Regions from separate parts of the Homo sapiens genome. Here region 1 is linked to region 2. Evidence: promoter capture Hi-C in 16 types of primary human blood cells and fetal thymus (Javierre and others, 2016). All regions are on one chromosome and are shown on one strand. The core of a region is centred on a gene start or on the middle of the fragment in contact, and the rest is flanking DNA. Distances in the headings are between cores, read along the strand shown.

What was found. Contacts are between HindIII fragments. The CHiCAGO score rates a contact against its expected background, and 5 or more counts as called.
Region 1: a contact is called between a fragment that was not itself captured here and the fragment with the promoter of PAK6-AS1 in region 2, in 7 of 17 cell types (naive B cells, total B cells, activated CD4 T cells and 4 more). The highest score is 10.5, in naive B cells.

What each region holds. Positions count from the first base shown.
Region 1 is chr15:39,800,078-39,803,050 of GRCh38, forward strand. GPR176 (G protein-coupled receptor 176) reads right to left here. Exons shown (of 3, transcript NM_007223.3): 3 at 1-2,177. The coding sequence ends at 1,055. Among named protein-coding and RNA genes, the nearest start is that of FSIP1, 19 kb to the left of the region's middle. The HindIII fragment of the contact is 2,359 bases long and covers 245-2,603 here.
Region 2 is chr15:40,251,440-40,254,472 of GRCh38, forward strand. PAK6-AS1 (PAK6 antisense RNA 1) reads right to left here and starts at 1,520. Exons shown (of 2, transcript NR_168270.1): 1 at 1,219-1,520; 2 at 1-1,100. It overlaps BUB1B-PAK6 (BUB1B-PAK6 readthrough), which reads left to right. Exons shown (of 10, transcript NM_001128629.3): 2 at 1,739-1,850. It overlaps PAK6 (p21 (RAC1) activated kinase 6), which reads left to right. Exons shown (of 11, transcript NM_001395430.1): 3 at 1,739-1,850. RefSeq lists a silencer at 1,502-1,591. The HindIII fragment of the contact is 18,506 bases long and covers 1-3,033 here.

The sequences.
Region 1 (2,973 bases), core at 174-2,673, 450 kb before region 2:
TTGCCAACCTTTTGGGCAGAGTCACCTTTCCAAATCAGGCCTTTTCAGTTTGATGTTTCCAAAGGACCCAGCTTACACTAACTCTCCATTTTAAAAATACCTTTTAATTCCTAAAGTTTGCATAAGATGATTTTTTCAATATATTTGACTCATACTGGTTGTTACATAGCACCTTTCATGTGAGATCATAGGGAAGAAAAAAAAACTACAGCGCCATAGGCATCTCTCAGGCATCTCCCCCGTAAGCTTCTCTCTCATTTGTTGAGAAAACACAATTTAAGGTGAAAGACAGAGCGAAGACTTTTCAGTGTTTTCCAGCCAACACTGACCCTGACTGGAGGGTGCAGGTGTATCTCTCTGAGGCGTTGGTGATGCCAAGGGAAAATCAGAATTATCAAGGACAAAATATCTCCCTTACTCCCGGGCACATCTATCGCCATGTGTACCATAGGTGAGGAATCGTCATTCCTTACCTACATCCCAATGAAAGGGACGAAGGGTATCAGGAGAAACAGTGAGTCATATGACTGGGGCTTCCAGAGAAACAGTGTAAGACACCAAATCCCTACCTTCTCAACAGAAAATGTTTGACATGTTTAAGTTCATCAAACAGGCATTTTCTCTGGAGCCACCATGCTCCATCATGATCTTGGAATTCCCTTAGAGTGCTCCTGCTCCCTGCTCCTGTGAGCTCTGAAAGTCTTCTCTCTGTGTGTTCTCTGCAGAGCCCAGGGAAGTGAGGCATCCTCAGAAAGTGCACATGGGGTACCCACCTCAAGACCCATTCAAAACTGCCCAGCTCTTGTCCCCACAGAGAATAATGTGGACTTCACTAAGGACATGGATCACTGAGATGGATACATATACTCCCTCAATAAAGAGGACACTGGATTTTATGTAGATTTCCCTATCATTCAAAAGCATCTGGCCCATATTGGAGGAATCAACTCACACTGAGTTGCAAGGAGATCATACAATCACATGGCCACAGCATTCCCACACTCTGGTGGGAATATGGAAGCTCCCCGTTGCTTCCAAGAATTTACAATCCTTGCTAGGAATCCACCTTTGGAAAAATGCTCACTTTATTGTTTCTGCTCATCTTCCGCTCCACCCTGCCTACCTTGGGCACCTTTGTCTGGATCAGCTCTTCTGGGGTGTTGCCCAAGGGGGGAAGCAGCCGCTTCTTGCTGTTTCGGGTCTCTGAGAGCCACTGAGGAGGCAACTCAAAAGGCCCAAAGCCAAACTGCAGGGAATACTTATCAGGGAATGTTTCAGGTTCCACAGGGGCTGCCGGTGCCACCTGGGATACAGAGTCCACTGTGCTCAGGGGTGGGGCAGAGGGCGCAAACTGTGGCCCCTGCTCTCCCTCCAGGCAGGTGCTAAATATCTCCTTGGCCTGGAAGTCAGCTGAGCCAATGTACTTGGCCTCACTCTCTTCCTCATCCTCTGTGGGCTTAAAGATCTGCTGCTGCCCAATGTGGAACATCTCCAGGAGCTGGCTACCCGAGCGTATGCTGGGTTCCAGGCTGGCCTCAGCCATGCCACTCCCTGTACTGACCACATTACGGCGACTGTACCGGTGGTGTAGTTGCACCAGGGTCCCTATCAAGCACTTGCGGACAGATTTGTTCACAGTAAGAAAGAGAACAGGGTTTGCCAGCAGGGAGACTTTGGGCAGCCAAACAGCAGTGAGCAGCAAGAAGACGGAAGTGTCAGGGACATTGAGCACAGTCTGGTAGACGACCAGGGTGGCATAGGGCACGCTACACAAGATGAAGACCATCACCATGGAGAGCAGGGTGGCGTGCAGCTCGGCCTCCCGCTGGGAGGCATAGGGAATAGAGATGGTGTTCTGTGGGGTCCGGAGCGCTGCTATGATGACCTTCTTCTTCTGGCTGGCACTCAGGGCCCGTCGGATCAGTATCAAGAAGAGGAACACCACCACCACAGGCACAATGACCGTGGTGATGTTATACACCAGAACGTACACCAGGTGGCCCAAGGAGTTGCTCCAGACTTCCGTGCAGGTGGACGTGGCATAGATGTCAGCCACATTGGTTACTGCAAACACAGGGACACTGGCCACCACTGCATGGGCCCAGATGTACATCACCAGTTCACGGGACTTGGCATCAGATATTTTCCTCTCCAGTGGATAGAGGACTGAGTAGTACCTGCAAGATACACAAACAAAATTAATTCCACAGAAGATACTTTTTAAATTAGGGGAACCTAAATCACCAAAAGTAGATGAGAGGGAAGAAAGGTCAAGTTCTTCTATTCGGCCTAAGACAGAAAAGCACTGGGGGAATCCAGGAAGCCAGACCTAAGTTTTGAGGACTTTGCAAGTACAATAAGAAGCGTCACTAGACCAAAAAATAAAAACCTTTCCAAAGGAGCAGCAAACCTGTCCTCATGAGGCTTTACAGGAAAACAAGTAAATAATTTCAATTCATAGCTAGCTTTATAATTATTGCTACCAGGATGAAATCGCAAACAGTACCCTCCATATAAAAGATTTCTCCATCTGCTATAAAGATATCTACTTTTCAATTTGAGGGTAAAGGGTAATTGGTAAACAATTTTATATGGGCTAAAGAAGCTTTAGGGCAATTTTCAAAGCTACCAACAGAAATAAGTTTGTCTACACACATATCTAAAGCAGACTTATGCCACAGTCCAGATATCATTAACAATTAAAGTTGTTCAGGGCAGAAGAACCAGTATGAAGAATGGACTCCGACAAGGTCCTTCCACAAAAATCAATTCAGCTGACAAAAGTTATGCCTGCTCAACAGTCATTGCTCCCATGATAATCACTCAGTAACCCTAAGGGCAATTAATAGGTCTAAAATGCCTGCACAATTAGATTTTTGTTAAAATCAGATGAGACATTGTTTTTCCTTCCAATATTTAACTTGATCATTCTGTAAGCACCTAAACAGAATTCCAAAAGCATGCCGTTTCAAT
Region 2 (3,033 bases), core at 270-2,769:
ACAGCCTATAATGCAAAAGATTGAGCCGTGAGTAGATTGATGCGTCTAAAGAATCAGTGAACAAAAATAAGTGGCCATAGTGACCTCAGTTAATCATTGAAGTCTGAGGTGCCCAACAATGATTTTTAAAATCCCTGCACTGTCCTTGGTCCCCGCTCTGTGACACTGGCAGTCACCCAGCCACCACTTGACGGCAGCCATTTGGAGTCCACATGTACTGAGTTTCCAAGCCAGAACTTCCTCAGCACTCAGCCAGAACACAGCCTTTCTCTGGGGGCCCAAGACAAGGAGAGCAAAGGTCTTCTCACTTCTTTATCTGGGGAAGAGATGAGTGATTCCTGTCCCTTCCCCCAGTATAGAAAACACCCTGTACCCCAAAAGAAACATGGCACAGGGGCAGCCAGGAGTGAGCCCCTTGGAATGGCCATTCTGATCTTAGGCAGGGACTGCTGAGGACAAGCAGAGGATGCCGACTCTGGGACAAAATCACAGGCGGAGGGGCTCCGAAACAGGCCCTAGCCGCTCTGGGGGTGCGGGTCTCCTGCCCTAGGACTCTCAGGCTAGAAAGTCCTCAGGACTCAGGACTGCGCAAGGGCTGACAAGGGAACTGGAATCCCTTAAATCCCGCTTTCCTGCCTGCGCAAGGGGCTACCCCAGCACAGTCTTGGGGCCCTGTCCACATGGGACAGATCATCCAAGGTGACAGGTTTTCCGACTCCCGCGTGGGCTCTCCAGGATGTGTGGGTGGGCACACGCGGCCCGCTCAGGTCCGGGAGAGTCGGCCCGCGGCTCTGGAGCGTGCATCTGCGATGCCAGTGAACGAGGTGATTACACACAGCCGGCGCTCAGCTGATTCTCCAGGTCGGGTCTCCGCGAGGCGGCCACTGGGCCGTGGAGCCGCAGGCAGGTCCCCGCGGCTGTGGCCAGGCCAGGGCCCGGAGGCGAAGGGCGGGCGGGAACTGGGGCCAAGCAGGTGGAGAGAAAGAGTTGAGCAGCACGGCGCCCCTCGGGCAGAGGGGCTCCTGGCCAAGGCCCCAGCGACACTTGGCAACTTCTCCCGCGCTCTGGGTTCGCCGCCGCGTCCTACCTGAGGCCACACCCTGAAATCAAAATCGCGGTCAGGTGAAGCCGGCGCTGCACCAACGTGTAAGCGCGGCCCCTCCTCGGCGTTCCCGCGCCGAGGTCCCTCCCGCGGAGGGCGGGCCCGGCTCCCACGACCTCTTCGAGCGTTCCTGGGCTTCCCGCTCCGCAGGTGGGTTCCCCGGCTGCCCCGGAGGTTCGCGGCGAGAGGACGGGCCTCCCAACACGCGCAGCCCCCTTCCTGGGTGCCCATGCCCCGAAGTTCGGGACCAGCCGGCGCCAGGCGAGGGGCCTTGGGCGCAGGCATCTGGAGCTCCGCGTCCCTGGAGCGGGACCTCCCTCCGCGGGCGCCCGCCCGGCGCGGGGCATTCGCGTCCCCGAGAGGGCGCAGCAGTGGGGCCTGCGAGCTGGGGCCGGGTGGCCGCGCCGGGTCGGAGTGTGGCTGGAGAGGGGCCGCCCCGGAAGCGGTGCTGCGCCCAACGTCCCCTTCTCCCCGTAAGCCCCGCAAGGAGCCTGCCGCCTCTTGCACCTGAGCCAGGAGTTCAGTCGGGAGGCGGGCGCGGAGCGGTTCCCAGCGCCTGGACGTCAGCCAGTCGCAACACCCGCGGGAACACTTGCTACATTTGCCATAATGCATTTCTGATCTGTTTCCGCGCAGGCCTGCGGAGGACTGGCCCAGCAAGGTCCCAGGTCTTCCCTCTCCTCAGCGCCTAAGAGAGAGGCCCAGTGCGGGTGAGGAGTCGCGAGGAAGAGGCGGAAGGCGCCGGAAGGTGAGTGAGCGAGCGGCCCCCGGCCCTAGAGCCTTCTGCACCCATTTTGAAGAGCAGGCAGGGAGGGACAGTGGGCAGGCAGGTGGCCCTCCTGGGCTGGCTCCTTCCTGGTACTGCTAGGCAGCGGAGGTGGTCCCTTCCAGGTGCCGTCTCTCGATCCTTAGTGGGTGCATGTTAAGTCACTTACACCACTTTGCCCCATGGCCCCACGGTAGGCTGGTAGACGTCAAGACCTCAAATGGCCCGCCCTGCCCCCGGGCCCATCTTCAGGTCTGATGCCTGTCCTGGGTGAGGGTGTCACCGCGGCAGAGTGCAGGGAATTCATGCCGGGGAAGAGGTTCCCAAACAGGAAGGGTGGTGGCAGGCCCAGTGGCTGTGCAGGGCAGGGTGGGAGGCAGCCGTGGGAGACTCCCGCAGGAGTTACAGGTGAAGCTGCCGCTCCACACATCCCAGCCCACCGCTCATTCCCCAGATCTCCAGACCTGCTCAGGTGGCATCCGATCTGGAGTGTAGGTGCTGCTGGGAGCACTGGAGGCTAAGCCATGAAGAGCTCCCAGGGTGTAGGTTGCGTTTTCTGTATCTTGCCCCATTCTGGTGGTTTTTTGGGGGCTTTTCTGACTTGTTTTTCTGGGTGAAGGGGGCAGAGGGGCTCAGGTCTGTGTCCATGCTCGTTTTTGGTGGCCGGTGTGGCATAGGTTGCCGCATTGGATAAGAAAACGCCTGGTTCCATGCAAGGTGAGGTTCAGCCTGCAGTGCCATGAATTCTCCTCCATAGTATATAGGACAGTGGCCGAAGACACATTTGGAACCGAAGAGAGTGGGGTTTGAATCTATCCAGACTTTGCCTTTGACTCCTTAGACAAGTTGCTTCACTTCTCTACAAACTTATAAATGGCCTCATCTGTAAAATGGGAATGCGAATGCCTTCCTCCTCATTAGGCGGTTGTGGGGAGTAACTGCCTCATCAGCCTCCAGCTGCTATGTTGGGAAGGGCTAAGCCACTCCAAGTTCTCCCATCCTGGAGAGCTTTGAGGGCAGTCTGGCTGTTTGGCAAGCTATTGTCAGAGGGTATTAGAGCAAAGCAATAGGAATAAAGTAAAGGTAGGGGTCCTTGGAGGGCGAGTAGTGAGAGACCCTAATTCAGGGTCTCTGGACCTCGTGGTGACCCAGGGAAGGGGCCATT